Regions from separate parts of the Homo sapiens genome. Here all the other regions are linked to region 1. Evidence: promoter capture Hi-C in human tissues and cell types (Jung and others, 2019). All regions are on one chromosome and are shown on one strand. The core of a region is centred on a gene start or on the middle of the fragment in contact, and the rest is flanking DNA. Distances in the headings are between cores, read along the strand shown. Region 1 holds the start of PIEZO2 (piezo type mechanosensitive ion channel component 2). Region 2 has its middle 42 kb from the start of PIEZO2. Region 3 overlaps PIEZO2 (piezo type mechanosensitive ion channel component 2).

What was found. The method cuts DNA at HindIII sites, captures the fragments that hold promoters and counts their contacts. A contact is called where the count stands out against the background at its distance.
Region 2: a contact is called between a fragment that was not itself captured here and the fragment with the promoter of PIEZO2 in region 1, in 3 of the 25 tissues and cell types used here (dorsolateral prefrontal cortex, ovary and spleen).
Region 3: a fragment that was not itself captured here is called in contact with the fragment with the promoter of PIEZO2 in region 1 in 3 of the 25 tissues and cell types used here (IMR-90 fibroblasts, hippocampus and lymphoblastoid cells).

The regions. Positions count from the first base shown.
Region 1 is chr18:11,147,629-11,152,045 of GRCh38, forward strand. PIEZO2 (piezo type mechanosensitive ion channel component 2) reads right to left here and starts at 1,941. Exons shown (of 56, transcript NM_001378183.1): 1 at 897-1,941. The coding sequence starts at 960. LOC124904249 (a long non-coding RNA gene) reads right to left here and starts at 888. Exons shown (of 2, transcript XR_007066288.1): 1 at 1-888. RefSeq lists enhancers at 434-483, 512-1,350 and silencers at 1,044-1,113, 1,124-1,303, 1,324-1,603, 1,844-2,293. The HindIII fragment of the contact is 6,242 bases long and covers 1-4,417 here.
Region 2 is chr18:11,189,465-11,193,881 of GRCh38, forward strand. No RefSeq gene overlaps it. Among named protein-coding and RNA genes, the nearest start is that of PIEZO2, 42 kb to the left of the region's middle. The HindIII fragment of the contact is 4,777 bases long and covers 1-4,417 here.
Region 3 is chr18:11,111,016-11,115,432 of GRCh38, forward strand. The region is part of intron 1 of PIEZO2 (piezo type mechanosensitive ion channel component 2); the gene reads right to left. Among named protein-coding and RNA genes, the nearest start is that of PIEZO2, 36 kb to the right of the region's middle. The HindIII fragment of the contact is 4,299 bases long and covers 1-4,070 here.

The sequences.
Region 1 (4,417 bases), core at 691-3,190:
AGAGGGAGAGCAAAGAACCAGGGCCCGGCATTCTTACGAGAGGAATTCAATGTCACAGGCACTGCCTGTTTGAGGAGAAGATCAGAAACGGTCCGACTCCCAGAACGCAGCACCCAGTTGCTTTGCACGCCAGGCCAGTCCTGGGGAAACGGTGCAACGCTTGTCTGGGCGTCGAGGAGGCTCCCTTGCGGTCCTCCCTGGGCCCTTGCCAGTCCCAAGGAGTTCCAACCCTGCTTTCTAACCCTTTAAAATCTGGAGAGGGCGGCCGCTGGGAGGCGGGACTAGGTGTTGGGGGTCTATAGCCTTAGCATCCAGTACTTTTGTAGTAGGGGCTTTTGTGGAGGTTTTAAAAAATAAGTAAGAAACGTCAAGGCACTGTCTCCCTGTACCTCGTCCCTCTTTTTCTTTTTTGAATGACCGGAGTCCTTCACTTCTTCCTTCACGGTTGCTGGGATTTGGGGTCTGGGAGAGATGGCCTCTGGGCCGTCTGGAGGCACAGCATGCTGTGCTTGCAGGGTCACTGGGGCGAGGGGCTCAGGTAGGAGCCTGACTGTACCTACGATGGGGACGCATCCGCCTTCCAGCCACAGCAATGGCCATCCTTAGTACACAAGTCAGTACTCCACGAAAGAAAATCCACGTGTAACTAAATTCAACATAAACAGTTTCCAGCACATGCCCGTCCCGAGCATCCTGTTAAGAGATACCCCGATCGCGCGCCCCAGAGTGGGAAGTGAGAGAGCCAGGCTGTGCACCAGGGACAGCGCGCGTCTGACGCCGCTGGCCTCCCGAATCGAACCCCAGAGCACCAGAGCCCTTCACTTTGTTAAGAAGTCCCCCACCCAGGCGCCCCCCTCGTCCTCCTCAAGTGCCCTCGGAAAGCGGACCAGACTCACCTACTGCCAGGCAGATGGGCAGCAGCAGCCTGAAGATGAGCCCGCACACCACTTCTGAGGCCATCGCGTCGGTCCGGCGAGTCGGAGCAGAGGGGCGAGGCTCGAGGGTCCCTAGGGGTGGTGGGACGCAAGGCCCATGCCCGTCTATGGCCTCTCGCCGCCGGCAGCTCGCAGCCACCCGAGCATCGCCTCGGCGCGGGCCGCGACGCTCTCCGCCCCGAGGGCACGCTCCCGGGGCTCTTGGCCGCCCCTCGCCCACCGGGCTCTGGGTAGCCCCTCACCAGGCTCTTGGCGGCCACCTAGCCCGGCGCCCGGCCCCCTGCGGCCGGCCCATTTAGTGTGAATCCTGGATCCGGCAGCGGCGGCGGCTTCTTCAGGGGTAGCTGATGCCGGGGCCTTGGAGAGGGACGCTTTGGGAGGGTCCTGGGAGGCGGCGCGGCGAGCAAAGGGGGCAAGAAGGGCGTGCTGTGCTCCCGCCTGGCTCCCGGGGCGTCGTTTGGGGGCGGCCGGGGAGTTTTCTACTTGGAAGCCCCTCTGAAGCCACCGCGTCTCCTTTGCCCGGCCTCGTCTCCGCTGCCCACGCAGGCTGCCGCGCTCTGGCCTCGGCCCCGGCTCTCGGAGCTGCCCGGCGGGCTCCGGGTCTCGCCCTCCAGCCCCCAGGCGGCCCGCGGCGGATCCCCGAGAGGCAGCGCAGCTCAGCCCCTGCGCCCCCCAGCTTCGGGCCGGAGAGACCGGGGTGGGAGCTGCCAGGCGCGCAGAACCATCCCCGCCACCACGGGGCTCGCCTTGTGGGTCCGGTGCGCGGGCGGCGCTGCGAGTCCCTCCCTCACTCGAAGGAACGGCGCGAGCGTGGGGAGAAATGGAGACCAGAGCGCATATCGGGTGAGTGGGTCTCCCACTCCCTCCTCCACCGCCTCAATTTAAAACTCAAGAGAAAAACCAGCGCCGTCCCGTCGCCCAGCGCGACCACCGCCTGCCGCCTTGCAGCCTCGCCCTCGCGGCGCAGCCGGGGCTCCCCGGCGGCGCGCGCTTCTCCACCTTCAATGAAACTTTCGAAGCCCTCACTCGGGGACGGGCGTGTCCCCCGGCCAATGGGATGGCGGCTCCGGGGCCTGCGCGCGCGGAGCCCGCCCCTGAGCGGCTGGGGAAGTGAGAGCCTTGCACCGGCGCGGAGGGCAAGCCCCCACCCGCGGCTCCCGCGCCTGGGAGAGACCCGGCCTGGCCTGCCAGTGGGCTGCGCGCCTTGGCTCGCCCTCCGCGGGCACTCCTGCCCCACTGGCTCCCGCAGCCCCGCGGCTCTGCGTGGTTCTGTCATTCCGGTGGTGCACCCTGGCATCCAGTCCACCCGGCCGGGCCCTGAGCTTGCCCAAACCCAGGGAACCGTTTAAGGTCCGAGGGAAACGCACAGGCCCGGCAGGAGAGAAGCCAGGGGCTTGGAGAGTCCTGTGCGACCCCGACTTCTGCTGGGTCCACAGGTGCACACTGGCATTAAGAAGAATAGAGCTGAATTCATCTACACCGTTGACCCTGCCCATATTTCACATAGCAAGAACTTGCCATTCTGAATAGACTCTGGGAAATCCCGGGTCTTCCCCAACAGATAATGCACCCACTTTGTGCATTTGGGGGAACTCTCCGTTTTCACCTCAGTTTTGCTCCTTGCTTGTCGTGGCTCTGGGGAAAGAGAGCGTTGGCACTGAGAATATTCTCCCTTTCTCCTAGTGCACTGCTTTTTGCCTGTTCTAGGCAAGATCTAGAGAAATCTGGCTCTAGCTGGGAGACTGCAGTGTGCCTGGGTCTTTTATTTAACTGTTATCCGAGAGTGGAGGAGATTTGCTAGAGCACAGTAGGGGTCTTTCCGGACATGGAGGAAGAGGCTGTTAGCATCTGTAGAGAGGACTGTTCAGGACTGGCATTCCATCAGGAGGACACACTGGGAAGGACCTGGCTTCCCTTCCGCACCTACATTCCTGGCTTGCATTAGTTGGAGGGGATAGAGCAGTGAGCTGATGAAAAACAGGCAAACCCCCGTCTTTTTAGCCATTTGAAACGCTTTTGTGGACATCCCTTTTTTGAGACAGGGTAAGCTTGTGGTTTGAGCTCAGGTGCCTTCACGAATTCTCTGAGAATTACAGAAAAACTATGAACCATTGCTTTTTGAATGAAGACTCAAGACAGTTGGCATATGGTGAAGACACCCTGAAACTTAAACCACCCATGTGCTCTGCCATCCTCAAGAAGCTTAGATAGCACCTAAACCCGGGCGTAGTCATGAGCTCAACAGCAGACCTACAGGAGACGATAGAACTTAAATTAGCATCCAGTCACCAAGAAATGCTATCAAGAAATGGTTTGTGTAGCCTGTTTGTAGAAGCCTGATATAAATCTACCACTAATTTTGATGTTCATAAGTCTGCCTTCACATCCATGCCCTCCCCACCTCACCCCATGTACGACTCATTCTTGGGAGCTAATAGGTGAAGGACTCCTGAATTTTAAATAATACTGTGTCATCACATGAATTCTGTATTCTCTGAATACTTTCTTATGTTCTTGATAGGCTTCCCATACTAACAACTGTCTAGACTTTTTCACAATAATTCTCTTTCAAAATAACATAAGCTGGGAGGCACAAGATTCCCAGCAGGTGGGTGGTCTTACCAAATAAACTTCGAGCTTTCTCTGCCACAGTGTGTACCAACTTGGCTGCTGGGGCGTTAGAGATTTTAACAACTACATCCCAGTTCTGAGACTTCCAACGTATGTACTCAAGGGGAAGTTTCAGCGGTCTAGACTACATCTGAAATAGGCTTCTCCATGCTGGCTACATGTTGCAGTCACCTGGGGAGCTTTTGAAAAACGCTCAGTCTCCACACTCCCTGAAATCCTGATTTAATTGGTCTGCGATGGGGCCCCCACACCTGTATTTTTCTTAAAGCTCTCAAGTGATTCTTAAGTATGCAGTCAGGGGTGAAGACCGCTGTCCTCATTTTCATATCAGACTCAGAAAATAGTCCATTGGCTTTCAAAACCAGCATCTCCAAACCTCATCCACCTTTCTGAAGCTGTATTTTCTTTCACAATGGACTTGACTTGAGCATACATATCCATAGCAGTGGCATTGTTTTTACAAGGGCTGTTTAACCCTCAATTTTCCCTGCTCTCATAGAAGCAGTATCTGGTGTCTAGACAGGTTAGTTTTTAAGGACTCACCAGCCCATGAGGGTATTGATCACTGTTCGGGAGCTCTGCTTGCCTGGCAAACTTTATTCCAAAGTTTGCCAGAATCTTGTCTAAAATTTGAAAGAGTATGTGAGTTTAAAAATGCTTTGGGGAGAAATCAAACATGTAAAATACTCATGGACATATTATTTTGATATTTCATGGGTACCTGATGTGTATAATCACCAGTTTACCCCGGTAATGAATTAAGCACCAGACACCCTATGCCTCTCTGCATCCACAATGACAAACAATGACTTCTTTTGATCATTATTGAGACTTTTAGTGCCTCAGCTTCT
Region 2 (4,417 bases), core at 826-3,325, 42 kb after region 1:
TTTATACATTCGCCAAATAGTTCATCAACCAATAAATCTTTACTGATCACCTGCTATGTGCCAGGCACTATTTCAGGTAACAAGGATATAGCAATAATCAAAAAAAGATAATGCCCAAGCTCTCAAACAGCCTGTAATTAGTAGCAGCTGATATAATCAAGAAATATTTATCAAGTGCTTATTGTGCTAGGGAGCTGACTGAATACTGGAGCCTATTAAATCCAGTATATGCGTCCCACACATAGGCCTGGATGGTCATTTCATCTAAAATCCCTGTCTTCTGCATGATGCGTGAAGTTGTTTACAGGTAGATTGAGTTGCTCACTGTTTGCCATAGGGAGTGGCTCTTTTTCTACAAAACAACACACAGAGAATTTGGCAATTATCGAACTTCATCTAAGCCTGTAAGATTTGACTTTATTCCTACTTGGAAATGAGGAGGAAAATTGGGTCAGAAAAAAAGGGATTTTACAGGTATTAGGGAGCTCAAGTTTACTTAGTATGGCAAAGTTCAAAATATAGCAGGGACATGATAGAATACTTTTCAGTTTCTAACCAGAAAGGACATCATTTAGTGGAAGAAAATCCAGCTATTTCATAGCGAATGATAAATTGGCAAAATCACTAGCTTTGCTCTTATACAGCATTAGCAATGATGGCAGATAATTTTGGCTTGTCAAGTTTCTGCTTTTCGTCATGTTCATGTGAGAAAAAGGTTTTAAGCTTAAAATGTCACAGTATAGTAATATTTATTTATATCAATTTTTATTCCAAAATAATTTGTGGTAACTCAATGTCATAATTTTAAGGATTTAGTAAATCCACTAAGCATAATTTTAGAAGACTCTCTGAAAGGGCTTCATCTTTTTTCCTCAAGGCCCACAAATCTTCACAAGGGCTTATCTTTTAAGAATGCATTTAGAATTCTTTCTCATTCTACACACCCATGAATCACATCGGAATATCACAGTGGAACTTCGTGTTCTCTAAACTTTTTCTTTTTTTAAAAAAACTCATATTTTGATAAATTAAGATTAGATTAGTGAGATTTGACTATGGCCAGAGGAAGACTACATTTGTAATTAATACATTACTGAAACAAAATGGGTGTCTATATCAGAGGGTAGGAATGGAAGAATACCATGGGTGCGACTCTTTTTATCCTAAATGGTGATCTTCTATAATCAAACCAGTAGAGAACACAAGTTTAAGCATTTTAAATAAGAAAAAACTCCTTGGCCATACAGGGGCAGTTTCTACCAACAGATTTATAGCTTCCACAAAAAATAAATATTAGAGATTATTCGTTGAGGTTATACCATGTTTCCAGCACTATGCATTCCTTCTGCTGGGGCAGCAAAGTGTCGTCTTTCAAAGGATTATTCCACTGATGAAAAGAAAATGTTTACTATATGTATATATATAATATGATTATGTATGTATACATATACACATGTGTGTATATATTTGATAATTTGATGGTTACTTTTCTCTCTTGGAAGTTAACCTATAAAGTGTGTTATGCTATACATGCACACAGACACAGACACACACACACACCACACACACACACACACACACACACACAACTTCATAATTGCTCTAGATACCCGAATTCAAGCAAGAAAGTAAGAAAAATAGTGATGACTTTAGATTTGCCTTTGGGAAAAACATACCATATGTTTATAAAAAAGGTCCAAACTGCTGGCAGATTTAAGGAGGGAAAGAGAGTTGACTTTTTTGCCTGTCCATGTGCAAATCCTCTTGGCAGTTTGGGAGATGGGGCAGGAACTGAACTGAGGTCTGAGGGATCCCCGAGTTCTTGCTGCCCAGGCACCTCAGCTCAGGAGGACTGTGTGTTTAAAGGGAAGAGAGAATCATTGGGAGGGCCATCATCCTTGAGACTGAAAATGCAGGCTCTGTAGGAAGTCCTAAGCTATTTAGGAAAATAGTCAGGAGGCTTGTTTCCCATGCAACATCTACTTTTAAAATGTTTGCTTTGAAAACGTAATTATAAAAGAAAGCCACTGCTTAGCTCATCTTTCTTGGGAGGAAAGAATATTACATTATAAGATCAAGAAAATAAAGAGGCTTTTAGTGTTAGAACTCACAAGTTCAGTTTCAGTAATTCTAGGCGGTTAAAGGGATAAAAAAGCCAAATAGGAGCCTTGTCAGCAATCGTGAATACTCTGCATAAAGCTAAAGAAAATGCTTTGCAGCTGCTGTCAATTGTTTAAGGAAGATTTCATAGCAACTTTAGAACTCTCAAGCCTCGGCAGTACTGGCTTGTCCGAAAAGTTTGTCTATAAATTTCTGTAGACTGTTAATCAGTGTTATCGGAAGTTCTGTACCCATTATGCCCAGGGTGCCATAAAGTTAGTTTTATGGTCACTTAATTTTAAAGAGCATATGATTGATCTGAAACCTCCAAATTGAATATATACATGGTAAACATCTCTAAATAGAGATCATTTTTAAATACATTTCTATAATTACTATATATATATAATAATTTTGATGGGTAAAATAATTTTTAAAACATTATTTTGCCAAAATTTATGCTATATCTCAATTTTGTTTCATAACTGTTCCCTGAGCATGAACAATTCTAATGGGGATTGTATTAAAAATAAGTGTCTTTGTTTTGGGAAGATTCCACCTTGGTATGTAATGGACAATCACGGCAAGTGTCTTTTGTGGGAACTTCCTATGTGTGGAGGGATGTTTAAGAAGCAGCTACATGGACACACCTCAGACTCTTATTCCCCAGAAGCTTTGCTCTTTGGGTGGCCCAAGCTCCCTGAAACAGTCATCCCATAACTGACCACAGAAACCCTCCGTAAATTTCATACCATCTCACCCTTCTTTTAGTATCAGGCCAGAAACAGCCTGAGACCTTGAGTCATTCCTGTCCCCAAAGAATCCTGGGCTTACAGTTAAGGTATCTAAAGTCAGCCACTTCTTGGGCTTCTCACCCACCCACTCACCCCCATCCTTTCCAGACCCTCATCCCCCACCTACTGCACTGTCCTGGGTTTACATGTTCGAACTCCCATTCCTCTCACATCTTTCCAGTTTCATTCTGGAGCTGTCGATGTAAGCCAACTCCCCAACCACGTTATGGTTTTCAGGAAATCCCTTCCCATTCACTTGCCTTATCCACTTGAACCACAGTACAGTGGGTGCAGAATGTTTTCCTGCCTCCATACTGCTATATCTAGGCTAGTACTCTTTCACTTCCAGGTAGTCATTAACACTCATTTGAGTTAATGAATTTTGTTTTATGTCCCAGGATATAGGCTATCCTGATGAATGTGTCATGGATGCTTTAAAAATGTACATTCTGTTGTTTTGCAGTGGCATGTTTCTCTATACATGTTATTTAGATCCAGTTGGTTGATTGTATTTGCTTATTACAGGTAGCATGCTGTATCTTTTTCCTTCCTTTTTTTTTTTTTTTTTTTTTTGAGATGGAGTCTCGCTCTGTCACCCAGGCTGGAGTGCAGTGGCAGGATCTCGGCTCACTGCAAGCTCTGCCTCCCGGGTTCACGCCATCCTCCTGCCTCAGCCTCCCGAGTAGCTGGGACTACAGGCGCCCGCCACCACGCCCGGCTAATTTTTTTTTTATTGTATTTTTAGTAGAGACGGGGTTTCACCGTGTTAGCCAGGATGGTCTCGATTTCCTGACCTCGTGATCCGCCCGTCTCGGTCTCCCGAAGTGCTGGGATTACAGGCGTGAACCACCGCGCCTGGCCCCTTCCCTTTACTTTGTACCTACCTATGTTGTTGTATTTGAAGTGACTTCAGTGCACACAGCATATTACTTGGTCATGGGATGTTTTAATGTACTCTGCCAATCTCTGTATTAAATTGGTGTGTTTAGCCAATTTATTCTTAAACTAATTATGGATATGTTAAGGCTTATGGCTGCTATTTATGTTTTCTGTTTGTTTCTCTGTTTTCGGTTCCTGTGTTTCTCTTTTCCTGTCTTCCTGTGTGCTACTTGAACATTTTGAAGGATTCTATTGTGTTTTCTTTATGCCGATTTTGAGCATATCGCTTTGTATAATTTTCTTAGCAGTTTCTCTAGGTATCACAATATACACATAGAACTTATCATAGCCTATAGGTATTAATGTTTTACCACTTTGAATAAAGTGTTGAACCTTTACTTCCATTTGTTGCCTTTGCTTTCCCCACTTTTAAAATATGTCTCAGGACTTCATACATATATATGCATATATATGTATATGTGTATTTATGTGTGTGTGTGTGTGTATATATATATATATATATATATATATATACACACACACACAGATCCCAACATCAGATGGTATTATGATTTCTGCTTTAGTAATCAAATGACTTCATAAATTAATTAGGATAATAATATTCTATTATACTCAATTCCTAC
Region 3 (4,417 bases), core at 671-3,170, 37 kb before region 1:
TTCAGTGCAGCTGCAAATGGACGTCCGGGCAGACAGGGCAGAGGACAGACAGGGAGCCTCCCCAAGCACTAGGGAGGTGCCTGCCTCAGTGCCTACAGATGCTTCTTCAGGCCCAGGAGCAGGAGCACTGGGGCTGCCAGCTGCCACAGCCAGCCTGGGAGTGTCAGAGGGCTCTGACGCCAGCCCAGGACTCTGGCCGCACCTGGGTCCCCCAGATGGAGATCTCTGGGGTCTGTGAGAACTTCCCTGGCCTTCGTTTCCCATCCCTTTCAACAGTGGTATAGCCTGCAATCTCCTCTATTTAAACCCTCTATACATGGATTATCTACAGTGGCTTCTGTTTTCCTAACCAAGTCCTGAACCAATGTAAGACTTTTCATAAAAACCTAGATTTCCAATTTCTTTTTAAAAAATTATACCATCTGGCAAAACTAGGCTCACGTGGCACGTGGCAACAATAGGCTGCCCCTTCTGGAGAAGCATGCACCACCCAGTGGCCAGGGCCCTCCAAATCTGTGATGCCGTGGCCATTCTCTATACCACCTTCAGGGCCCGCCCTGCCTGGGACCCTGTAGGGACTTTAACTCAAGAGTCTTGATCCAGTTCTTCTCCTGCCACCCCCAACTTCCTCTCTCCTGTGCTCACATGACATCCAATCCCCACTTAATTGAAGTCGACAAGGCTTCTTGAACTGACACCGTCACACCCTCGGGGAATCCGTAGCCAGGCACCAGTCTGCACCGAAAGCGTGCACAGTAGAAACCTGGCTCCTTCCAGGAGGCTCCTTGTAGGTTAAATTATTCTTGATGAGAAGCAACTTAAATATTACTTTTAGATGTAAACAACCATGGATAGATTATAAAGTCAAATAACAATGTGTCTCTTTTAAGATAAAACACAAGATCTCAAAGAAACGATCTTCTGCAGGCCACTTCATGAGTCCCCTTGAATCCTCTGAGGTTCTGACTTAAGAGGGAAAATGGTAGGGGAGCCGTGAATGAAGTTTCATAGTCCTTTATATTAATAAAGAACTTCACAGCTGAAAGGATTTTAAGACTTTTTAGAATGATTAAACTTTAAAGATGGAGTTTCTAGGTTTCTGATGAATTCCTATGAATACAAAATAACCAGATACTCATATTTATGTATGTATTTCTAATTTAAGTAATCCTCTAGGTATTTTGTATCTACAGGATCAGATATTCGGATATTTGTAAAGATAACGGTGACTTTTCAAGTTCTGAATACCAACTGAGGTTTTTTGTTTGGTATCAGGAAGGTCATTTGAGTTTAAAATAAAAACAGTTATTTGAGATATTCTGATCCACCCATTTAAGTAAAGGCCTGGTCCAGTCATTCTGAGAACAACCCTTCAACGCTTTAATTAAAGAGGCCTACAACATCAGAATCTAAGTGTCATGACCAAAATATGTACTCCAACTCCATCATTTATTTACATGGAACTACTGAGAGTCAAGTCTCCAAATTTTACACTGACTGATGAGTCTTCTGTACATCAACAAAGTTAACACAGATTGGCCTTGGAGCAGCTATCGAAACCACATAAACATTGCATACTAGTCAGAGGCTCACCAGGGTTGTAAAGAAGACTTACACACTTAGTCGTAAGTCAACAATTGCCAGATTAGGCACAGAAACAAACCTATATAACTTTCTGAAAATAATGCAAGTGACACCTGGTGTTCTACTGTCTATTGAGAAATGCATAATGCCACAGGACTGAACTGAAAATGTGGGCTCCTTCTCTCCATCTGCAGTTAGGTCACCGACAAGAGGAAGAGGCGCTATGGAGAAGAAGGAGCAAGCCAGTCTGTGCAGAATTCAAATATCCTGATCCTCAGGTTCTCTCAAACAGTCTCTGGGCCCATCTAAGACTGCCTCCCAGGGTTTTCTCAGGTTCAAGCTGCTCTCTAGATTCAGACCTACAGGATAAAGGTCCTGGTGTGTTTATTATTTTGGTACCTAACTCAGTGCCCAGCACGATGTAGGCCTTCAAGAACTGTGGACTTGAACTGGCTGATTGACTCATGAAATCCCAGAAACAGACCTTTGGTATAAAGGGGCAATGTTGAACTTGACCTGGGCTTTATGCTCCTGGAAAACAGCAACAGTTAACATCTTCTCCCACCCCAGCCCCTGAAACCCTTTTGTCTTCCAGGAAACTGCTGACTGCAAAGAACTTGTCTTCCCTGTGTGACTTAGATGGGACTCACAGATGCACACCGTATTTACCTCCAAGGCCAGACACAGGCCTTCCATGTACTCAATCTTTATCTCATAAATTATTAGCCAAACTGTTTGTTTCCATTGACCAACCTGGACAAAATACCCACTAACAACTTGACCAAACTTTAATCAGGACCTTGACTCCCCCTTGAGCAAATAACAGGACAGCCCTCCTAAAGGGCCTCCTAAGGATCCACAGACCTCAGGGAAAACCCTCCGGATATGCGGATTCACTGTCCCATCCTTCTTCCTGCTCTGCCCACCCTCACGGCCTTGTTCACTCCTGCAATCCTCCGTATAACAGAAAAGCCCTTTCTTACAGACCTGGGAGGCCCTCGCAGGTATCATGGTCACATGATACCCTTACCTCTACCACAATAGTCTTTTCAGATGAAGATTCTCCTTACCTGAGTCTGAATTCATTTTTTATTTGACAAAAGGAACTACTCAAATATTAGCAAGTAAGTCATCCCCTTAGCACATTCTCTGTGACAACGCAGGCCTTCCTGGCCACCGCCCTCCAAACTGCCCCCGAGGAGTGACAAGAAAGAAAGATCAGAAGTGGAGGATGTCCACCTTCGTGTCCTTTCTTGGTGTGTTCTCAACCACATAATCCTTTCAGATGTAATTTTTTAGCATTGTCCTCTTTTAATATTTATCACAGCACTACCTTGACTGTGATGAAATATTCATGTAATTTCAATAGCTACGGCAAAGCCAAGTCTATGACAACGTTGTTGATGAACAGTGGAGTTCACTACATTAATGTAATGGATGCACTAAGTAATCAAATATCATTCCATGTTGATAATCTTCAAAAACTATATGCCTCTTATAATAAGTCATTACACTAGTCTGGTTGCATTACATAACCTTAAAGTAAACACATTAAATGTTTAGATTAAGGGAGATGCTATCACTCATGTAATGGTGCCTCTCTGCACAAGTTCCAAATTTTTGAATCTGACACTCAAGACTCTCAGAAACCTCCTCTCAAATGACTTTTCAAGCTTATCTACCTAGGACACTGTTTGTCTTACAATAGAGCTCTTTACAATGACAAGAAAGAGGCATGTACAACTGTCTTCACTAATAAAGGATTTTCTAAAGTTAGCAGAGACGGCCAAACGTGGTGGCTCACGCCTGTAATCCCAGCACTTTGGGAGGCCGAGGCAGGAGGATCACTTGAGGTCAGGAGTTCAAGACCAGCCTGGCCAACATGGCAAAACGTCATCTCTACTAAAAATACAAAAACTAGCTGGTGTGGTGGTGTGCACCTGTAATCCCAGCTACTTGGGAGACTGAGGTAAGAGAATTGCTTGAACCTGGGAGGTGGAGGTTGCAGTGAGCTGAGATCGTGCCACTGCACTCCAGCCTGGGCAACAGAGGGAGACTCTGTCTTAAACAAAAAAAAAAAGGCAGTTGGGGTGCTTTTCCCCCCACATATTTGAAAAGAGAGCTAGTGCCAACAGATAGACTGCAGTTAACAGGACGGGATAGAGAAAATTTTCACAGATTGTCAGGAATTACCACCAAGAGTAAGATAAGGCTGGAGGGCTTCTGAATCATCAAATAAACACACAGAAGCTCACTGGCCGTTTCTGAATGTCAATACTTCCACTGACTTAGCTCTTAAATCAGATAACTAACAACAGAGGAGCAATTTGTTTGACTTTGAACTAAATAGGCAAGCAGTGTTGATATCATCTAAATCTGGTTATAAGTAAGGACAATGTGAACATTCCTAAGTACTAAGATCCTCTTCTTTTATCCTGTCTCTCCCCAGATATAATGTTTTCCAGGTTGCTCTATTGTCTTCTATGTAATATTAAAGGGCTTCAAAGTTTATGGTACATTCAGACTTAGCTATTCAGGATTGACAGTTTGGTTATAGACAGTTAAATGAGTATTCATCAAACATGGAATTCAGAAACAAATACTCCTATATTAAGTGTTTGGGATAAATAAATATGTTCATTTGCTACACATTTGCTAATTGAAAATTGAGTTTTATACACAGTTGTTAAGTTTAAAATAGCCTACAAGAAAATGAGATTAAGAAAACATTACAAAAGAACCAAAATCCTTGTTTTATGTTCATCTCTATCTATGCTACACTTCCTAAATTCTTCTGAGGTCATGAAGGATAGGTTTTAAATTACTGCTGTAA